Linked DNA regions of Homo sapiens: region 1 is linked to region 2. The links are contacts of gene promoters, found by promoter capture Hi-C in blood cells and fetal thymus (Javierre and others, 2016). All regions are on one chromosome and are shown on one strand. Each heading gives the region's core, a stretch centred on a gene start or on the middle of the fragment in contact. The rest is flanking DNA. Distances are from core to core; before and after follow the strand shown.

Region 1 (4,278 bases), core at 676-3,175, 140 kb after region 2:
TGGTTTCACAGCAGTAATAAAAGTGATAAGGTCTATAAGGGATAACACTGTAGGCGCCTTCTGGCACTAAAGTTTCATGGGTCCTTGCCATCAGGCTCAGGTGTTACTAGCAATTCATCCAAAATGCAGTTATAAAACACCTACTTTGAGCCAGGAACTATATTTTATATTTATTTTATTTATTTTTTAGAGGCAGAGTCTTGCTTTGTTGCCCAGACTGGAAGGCAGTGGCCCGATCACAGCTCACTGCAGCTTCAAACTCCTAGGCTCCAGTGACCCACTCACCTCAGCCTCCCAAAGTGATGGGATTACAGGCGTGAGCCACCACATCTGGCCCCAAGAACTGTTTTCAATGATAGCATTTTATTTAATATTATAAAATTAATATGAAGAAGTTGCTACTAAAAGAAGCACTTTAGCAAATAAAATTTAATAGATCAGGTAGAAACACTGACTTCAATCTTAATTTGGGTGGCTGATCAGGTAACCTACAATTGGGCAATCAGAGATGAACAATAATTTTGTATGCTATCTGCCTGACTACACAAGGTACTTTTATGTCTTTTTGTCAATTACAAGAAAAAATTATCCCTGGGCAAACAAATACACAAAGATAAAAGAGCAAAAATCCTACCCACAGGCAACTATAAGATAGAAAAAAATAGTTTGATTAACGACTTGAAGTGCTGAACAAACATTTAAGAACTTTGGCAGAAATTTCTGAAAATTCTAGTCCAACCGCGAATCAAGAAACACAGGTAACACTATGTTCCGTTACTGGGTTAGAGAACAGAACAGTTGGCTAGTTTGGCTAACTCATAGAAAACAAGCAAACCAACCATGCTCTGGTCCAACAATCATCAGAGCACGAGTTTCTCCTACTCAGAGTCGGTCCCATGGGGGAAAAAAAAGCCACACAGGAGCGGGATCTGTAGTTAAGGAAGATAATTAGAGGACGATTTTCCTTTTTTTATTTCTCTGTATTTTGTAAAGCAACCACCGAGGTAGGGGCGGGGAGGGAGTGGTTAATATTGCGGATATTAAGATATAAATAAAGGCAGATGAAATGAAGTTAGACTTTCACAAAGAACGAAAAACCTACGAATGCTCTTGGCCTCATTAACAAGGAACATAAGCAGTTCCAGATGAGGAACCCATAACAAACTTCAAATAACGAAACTGTAGGGAGCAAGGGAGTCCGTGAGAGTATTTTAAGAAACTGGGACCCAGGAAGACTAAGTTAACGGATGGGATATCATGCTGTCTATATTTCTTTACACACTGCTATGCTTTATTAATTAGGTTACATTATAATGTTAAATAACTAGAAGCGCTGGGCATTTAAAGTTCTTCCAGACCGCCCTAACCACTCAAATTATCCTAATTAGCAATTTTTTTTAAGTTAAAGACTATTTCAATCGCAATGGGTCGGTTTCTATTTCAAAGATGTAAAGGAGTCAACATTCTGGCACTTCCTCTTGGCCGGCAGGACGAGGTTGACAAAGTCGGCCAGACAAGGTAGGGTTATGGGGGCTGCCCAGTCCCGTGGGTCTCTAGGCAGTGTGTTCTCTCTTCCGAGGTGGGGGTGTCCCCGGCGCGAGGAGCTAGCTGTGGTCACCGAAGCCCACGACCAAAGCGGGGGCCCCCAGCGCTTGGGGCCGCCTTGCCTCGGCCCAGCCGCGCACCTGGACCCCTAAGGCAGCCCCCTTCCCGGCGCTCCGCTGTCCCGCGGCCCCGCAGCACCGCCCAGCCCGCGCCAGACCCGCCTCCAGCCGCAGGGAACTACCTACCGTGCGCCGGCCCCTGGGCTGAAAGGCCTCTGACTACGGGCTATGTAACAGCGCCACCAACGAGCGGGACGGACAGAGCGACTCCTTCCGACTTCCGGAGGAAGCGGAACGCTACCGGAAATCGCGGGGAGGGTCAAAGGAGACCCGGTCTCCGAGGCTCATGGCGATGCTGGTCCTAGTACCCGGACGAGTTATGCGGCCTCTGGGTGGCCAACTTTGGCGCTTCTTGCCTCGCGGACTCGAGTTTTGGGGCCCAGCCGAGGGGACTGCGAGAGTCTTGCTGAGGCAGTTCTGCGCGCGGCAAGCGGAGGCGTGGCGTGCCTCGGGGCGCCCTGGCTATTGCCTGGGAACCCGGCCCCTCAGCACTGCGAGGCCGCCACCCCCGTGGTCGCAGAAGGGCCCCGGAGACTCCACGCGCCCCTCGAAGCCCGGGGTGAGTGCACACCTGGAACCCTTCTGGTGCTCGTCGCGGCTGTCGGCCAGCCCAGCGGCCACATCCCACTTGGTCGTAACCTCAGACACTACTCCGCCTCCCCTAAAGTTGTCCTTAGCTTGCGCGCCTTACCTGGGTCATGGAATTTCATCCTACATTTCCCGTGCCTTGCGGGTAGTCCCAGTTCTCCACAGAGAACTTGAGACTTTACACCCTCTCCACGTGGCTGGATGCCCCGACTTGGATTTTATGTTAGCGTTTCCATCAAAAAAAAAAAAAAAATTAAGTTTCAGGTTTTCTTAAGGGTATGAACCTAAAGTTTACCGTGATTGAGAAGTCAGAGGACTTTTATAATTTGTCACTTGAGCCCCATCCAGAGTTCCATGTATACGTTGAAATTGAAACAAAAAGTGGAACTTAGTTATGTGTGGATCTGCCTTTTTCTTGGGGTTCTCTCGAGTTCTAATTCTGACCCAGAAATAACTTGAGAGCCACTACCCTGTGGTAAGAGAAGTGGGTTTTTGGAGCTACGGGAAGGTTAATGAGTTAGGCCTAGTCTAGTTGGCCAACATCATCTTCATTTGGGGAGTTGAATAAGGGTACAAAGAAATAATGGGTGTAATTTGCAAGAAGCTCCACTTTTAGATTCCTCTTCTACTTTGGCATTGTTACTTCTGGAAGCCAGAGTTAAGTTAACCTCCCAAATTTCGTTTGGTCTATTTATCTCAGTATCAGCATAAGCAGATAATTGTTTTTTGTGTGTGTGTTTTTGGATTTTGGTTTTTGTTTTGAGACGGAGTTTTGCTCTTTTGCCCAGGCTGGAGTGCAGTGGCCCTATCTCGGCCCACTGCAACGTCCGCCTCCCGGGTTCAAGCGATTCTCCTGCCTCAGCCTCCCGTGTAGCTGGGTTTAGAGGGGTCCGCTACCACGCCCGGCTAATTTTTGTATTTTCAGTGGAGATGGGGTTTCACCATGTTGGCCATGCTGGTCTCAAACTCCCGACCTCAGGTGATCCACCCGCCTCCGCCTCCCAAAGTGCTGGGATTACAGGCGTGACCCACCGCGCCCGGCCATAATTGGTTTTAAAGTCATTACTGGAGCTAGGGTCACACATAGTAACAATCGTGGTACTTGAGCTTTTTTTTTTTTTTTTTTTTTTTTTTATTTACATGAAGAGAACTGACTTAGGGAACTTTCCCCTGGAGATGAATGCCTTTGTAGTTCAGATCCCAGACCTAACTGCATCCACAGAAACTTTGAGCATTTTCTCATCCCTGAAACATTTTGCACATTTAACATCATGGCCTGTGTGTATGTATATTAAAAACTACTTTAATAAGTTTGTATGGTTAAATGTTTGCATCTTACTAGAATTTTTATGTTTGAAATCCCTGCCCCAGTAGCCTGTTTCCTGGAAGTCTTTAGCAATCACATTTGCTATTGGAGGAGCTTTACTGGCTGGAATGAAGCACGTCAAGAAAGAAAAGGCAGAGAGTAAGTAGATTATCATCTGCTCAGCCCTGTATAAAGGTCTTCCTGGCTATGGACTAGCACCTTTTTTGTTGTTTTTTAGCTTTTTGTTTTGAAACAACTTTAGATTTACCAAAAAATTGCAAAGATAGCATAGGTTCTACATACCTTTCACCCAGCTTCCCCTAATATTAACATCTTGTATAACCATGACACATTTTTCATGACTAAGAAATTTTAAATGGCACACAACTATTAAATTACAGATTGTATTTGGATTTCACTTGTTTTTCTATCAATGTCTTTTATTTGTTCCAGGATCCAAGCTAGGATACCACTGCATAACAATGTTAAAAGATATACTGTGGATAGATTTGACTGGGCAAGATGAAATCTGGAGGGTACGAAGATGAGTAAGATGTAGTCGAGCCTTTGAGGTGCACACGGAAGGGAAACAGACACAGAAGTAAAGTATTTTACTAGATGCGATTCTGCCAGGCCAGAAGGAAGCTTACCATGTTGTGAGAGCAAAAGCAAGTCCCAGCCTTGAGATTTGAGAAGGCTTCCTAGAGATCAGGCAAGGAG
Region 2 (4,587 bases), core at 1,646-4,145:
ATAATTGTTGAAGCTGGATTGTGGAAGTTCATTAGGTAACGTGCGCACGTGTGTGTGTTTAAAATTTTTCGTAATAAGCACTTTTTATTAAAAAAAAAAAAAACTATTCCAAGGAGTTTAGGGGATGCAAGTAGGGGACAGACAGACAGTCATCAAGAAGTATAATAGAGCAGAAGAGCGAAGGCCCAGAGGCTGTGCAGGGCCAAGGCCAGACTGACTGCGTCAGCTAAATGAAGATGGGCTAGGCGCGGTGGCTCACGCCTGTAATTCCAGCACTTTGGGAGGCTGAGGCGGGCAGATTGCTTGAGCCCAGGAGTTCAAGACCAGCCTGGACAACATGGTGAAACCCCATCTCTACAAAAAAAATACAAACAAAAAAATTAGCCAGGCATGGTGGTGCACATCTATAATCTCAGCTACTGGGAGGCTGAGGAGGGAGAATCATTTGCATCTGGGAGTCAAGGCTGCAGTGAGCCAAGATCACGCCAATGCACTCCAGCCTGGGAAACAGGAGTGAGACCTTGTCTCAAAAATAAATACATACATACATATGTACATAAAGATTGACAGAAAGAACATTCCAGAAGGAGACAGCCCACGTGCACAGGGACGGATGTTCCAAATGACATGCCACTGCCCAAAAGTGTTTACTAAGGAAACCAATTCATCTGGTTTGCTTGGAACTTTCATGGTTTTAGCACTGAAAGTCCCACATTTCAGGAAATCCATCAGTACCCAGTGAGCCTGGATGGCTGGTCATCCTACCTTACCACTGTCTCGTGCAACACTGGACTGGCCAGGTGAGGGGGCACAGCGCTGAGCAGGAGCAGCTACAGGGTGGAGAGTTAGGGCACTGTGGATAAGAGGCTAAGAGCCATCCCCAGGCAGTGACCATCCCTGCTCCCATTCCCTTCAACACCACAGCTGCAGTAGCGGCCTCTTCATCCCGGGACACTGGAGTCAGCTGCCCAGGGACCATGATGGCTCCTCATGCCTCCTCATCTGTCCTGCTAGGAAGGGGGTCTGCAGACAGAACAGCTTCTACCCCGGACATGTTCTCCTCTGATGCTTGCTGCCCCTCCAATTTACATTTATATTTAAATATGTACTTATACACATGTGCATTATGTGCATATATATTATGTATATATTCTTTAAGCACTTGCTATGAGCATTTTCTCATTTAATCTTCATAAAAGCTCTGTGATGTAGTAATGATCCCACTCAATGAATACATGAGGAAATTAAGGCCCAGAGAAGTAATTCGTCCAAGGCCAAATACAGAGATAGCAATATACCTCACATGGCTACCTCATGGAGTTGTATGGGAAATAAGTGAATTGCTATATATATAAAGTGCTTAGAAGAGTGCCTGACATGGAGGGAGTGATGAATAAGGGTTTAACTTAGGATGGTATTACTCTGCCACACTGCCGTGCCCTGCAGAGGGTGGGGGAATAGCCCGAACTTTGTAAAAATAAATAAATAAATCATTTGATTATTTGCATTGCAAAATAATTCACTCTAGGGTTCCTCTGCGAGCCAGGCCACTTGGTTTTACAAACTGATTTGAGTATAAAGTCAGAGGCACCTAAGGCAAAGCAACTCACATCCTCAAAAACCTTCAAAGTCAAGTTCCCCTGGACACTCAAGGCAGGCCTCTCCCTGCTCATTGCCCTGAGCAGAGACGCTCATCTTCACAGAGGACAGAGGGCGTACTCAGCCTGATCCCTCACAGCAGCTCAGGGGACAGGCTCATCCTCCTAGCTCTCTGCTTCTCTAGGCATGGATCACACAGCAACCTCTACAGAGCCTTCTAGGCTCAGAATCTCCTGCTCATTGCACAGATGAGGAACTCAAGATGCCAAATATGGGAGAGTCTCATACCTGCCTTGACAGCAGCTTCCTTGGATGGCTCCTAGGAAAGCCCTCCCGGCAGACCACAGAGGAAGCCCCTCAGGGTACTGTTCCCAGTAGCAAGGATGCCCACCCACCAGTTATCCTGAGGAACAACAGCTGCCCACGTTCTCAGGTTAGTGTGGGCCAGGGCAGGAGCCAGCATGCCTTCCAGAATCATAGGCAATTTTGCTGACCTCAGTGTATCCGTCAGCATCTTGAGAACTGGCCACTCAACAGCTCACACCCAGCTTCCCGAAGCACAGTCTGGTAAAGGTTTATAGAGGAGAAAACCTTTTCATCCTCCTTGCACTGATTTGCATCATTCTCTTCTCATCATTGTGGCAGCAGGCATCCCATAAAAAGCAACAGGGCACCATGAGGAATGATTGGAAGAGCGATGGGGAACAAGCTCTTTTGCCTCTATTTGAGATGTCAGGCCTGGGATGGAGGTAAGTCGTGTTGTGGGCTCCTGGCAGTTTGTAACATAGGGTGCCCACCCGTGCATTGGAAAGTTCCAAGAAGTGTCCCTGCCATCTTGCAACCAAGGATGTTTTCTAAGTCTGCATGTGCCCCCTCCAACATCCAGAACACAGAGAGTTCCCAGATCAAATTATTAAGGCCTGCACTGAACAGAGCCAGTGTAGCCTGAGTCAGCCGGAGGGTCTGATCCACTCTTTGGCAACTCATCCCCACCACCATGGCCACTACACACCTCCACCAACCCAGAAACTCCAGGTCCTCTGATTTCTGAGCCTGGGTCAGGAGAAGCTGCCCTGCCCAGGCACCAACGGAACGCACGCCTCCATGAAACTTGAAGACAGACTGCAGAGAAGCATCATGAATTTTTCACAAGATTCATCTAATTGTGGCTGAGCAGAGCTGAGAAAGCCACAGTCCGAGGACCCATGCCAGCAGCTCACAAAGAGTTAACCCATTAGGCCATTGCCTGGTGAGCTCATCCATCCCTGCTGGAGCCTGCTCAGTTGCTGGGATTCACAACACACTGACTTCTGGACGTGGTCAGGGTGGCTTTCTCTGGCTGGCATGGACTTGAGCAGAAACTCATTGCCGGCTTCCTCCTTGCACGAGCACCAAGTGATTCCCAGGTCCCCCATCCTCCCCTGGGACATCGAGGACAGTAAGTAAGGAGGGAATGTTTCCTTCTGCCCTTCCTTCCATCTCGCTGAAGGAAGGAGCAGATTTTAACTTTGCTTTGGAGCGTGTTGTCTTTAAACTGGGGTTGGAAGGCAAGCATGAACAACAAGCGGAGAAAAGGGGGCTATGCCCTGGGAGGGGGTGAAGTCAGCCTGGAGGCACTGCCTGCTGAGGGTCTTGGCAGACAGTGGTGGCCAGAGGAAGGGGGGCCGCCCCTTGCTGTGTACTGGGAAGAAGGGAATTTGTGGGCAGAGAGCTGCTTCAGTCCTGCGTCTATAGCATCCAGCCTTCACTCTTAGCAGCCATTGTGGGAAGGGCTGGGCAGGGACTCTCCTCCCAAATCTAAGTGGAAGAAGCAAAAAAGCCAGACAGGAAAGTGCAAGGCCACCCCCAGACCCCAGAGTACATGGGTGGAATCTCGGACCCCAGCCGTCCTCCTGAGCACCCTGTGTCAGACCTCTGCAGCTGCCAATGTCTTCCTCCTGCAGCTGTGGCAGGTGTCTGGGGCAGGTGCCAGAAAAACAAGGTGGAGTGCGTTGGCTGCCTCGGGAGTTTTATCTCAGACAGGGGGAACAAGGCAGGCACATGCAAACACGGACAAAGACGTGGCTCAGTCAGGCAACTGTGTGCCGTGAGAACCCTGCATCCGGGTAAAGCCAGCCGTGGTCACACACGCAATCGCCCGAGCTATTTTTCTACCCTGTCACTGGCCAGGGTCTGGGCACCAGCCGGGTGGCCCAACAAGGGAGGTGGGTGGCACCCTCTAGGTTGACTGTGACCTTTGGGAAACTTCCCTTCCTAGAAGCGCTATGAGCAGGTGACAGATGGGTGGCCATGGCCATGGTGACAGCAGCGGCTTACTCAGAAACCCTCTAGCTTCTATTAGCCCAGACACTTGGCCCCCACTCACCTTATCAGAGGGGTGGACAGTCACCAACTGAATGTCCTGGTGAGGGGAAGACAGCACCGCCAGAGAAGATAAGGGACCGTGGGGATGACCACTGGCAAGCTGGAGCTGGGTGGGGCCTTAATGGGGACTCCGTGAGGGAAACAGGAGGACCCTCCACTTCTTACCACTCTGGGTCTTCCACAGGAATAATACATGGTGTTATTCCCACCACTTCCATCCTGCCTTCCCCGCTTCTCCCCCAGACTCCCCTCGCTGGGCCCAGCCTCCCAGCAGTGAGGTAATGTGTGCCTCTCTCCTCTGCTTTCAGCTCTTGCAACTTCCAGAACAGCCCAGGTGCTATCAGAGCTCTCTAGATGGTGGGGCCTGAGGGGCAGAAGCTCAGGAAGGGCCAGATAACTCCAGGCCCAAGCACAGCAGCACAGCGGGATCTCTTACAATATTAGGGGTGCCAGATGTATTGCGAGATGCCCAGTTCAATTTGAATTTGTCAAACAACAAATACATTTTTTGCATGCGTTGGTCCCATGCAATACTGGAACATTCTTACATGAAAAAAACTATCCGTTGTTGATCTGAGGCTGAACTGTAACTGGACACCTTGTAGTTTTATTCTCTAAATCTGA

What was found. Contacts are between HindIII fragments. The CHiCAGO score rates a contact against its expected background, and 5 or more counts as called.
Region 1: a contact is called between the fragment with the promoter of SCO1 here and the fragment with the promoter of PIRT in region 2, in 6 of 17 cell types (naive CD4 T cells, non-activated CD4 T cells, total CD4 T cells and 3 more). The highest score is 10.3, in naive CD4 T cells.

Annotation. Positions count from the first base shown.
Region 1 is chr17:10,695,180-10,699,457 of GRCh38, reverse strand. SCO1 (synthesis of cytochrome C oxidase 1) reads left to right here and starts at 1,925. Exons shown (of 6, transcript NM_004589.4): 1 at 1,925-2,223; 2 at 3,627-3,717. The coding sequence starts at 1,951. It overlaps ADPRM (ADP-ribose/CDP-alcohol diphosphatase, manganese dependent), which reads right to left and starts at 1,864. Exons shown (of 4, transcript NM_020233.5): 1 at 1,791-1,864. RefSeq lists a silencer at 1,497-1,826 and enhancers at 1,947-1,996, 1,712-2,006, 1,300-2,124, 2,125-2,948. The HindIII fragment of the contact is 16,251 bases long and covers 1-4,205 here.
Region 2 is chr17:10,836,395-10,840,981 of GRCh38, reverse strand. PIRT (phosphoinositide interacting regulator of transient receptor potential channels) reads left to right here and starts at 2,895. Exons shown (of 2, transcript NM_001101387.2): 1 at 2,895-3,037. RefSeq lists a silencer at 1,662-1,886 and an enhancer at 3,583-4,084. The HindIII fragment of the contact is 9,359 bases long and covers 1-4,587 here.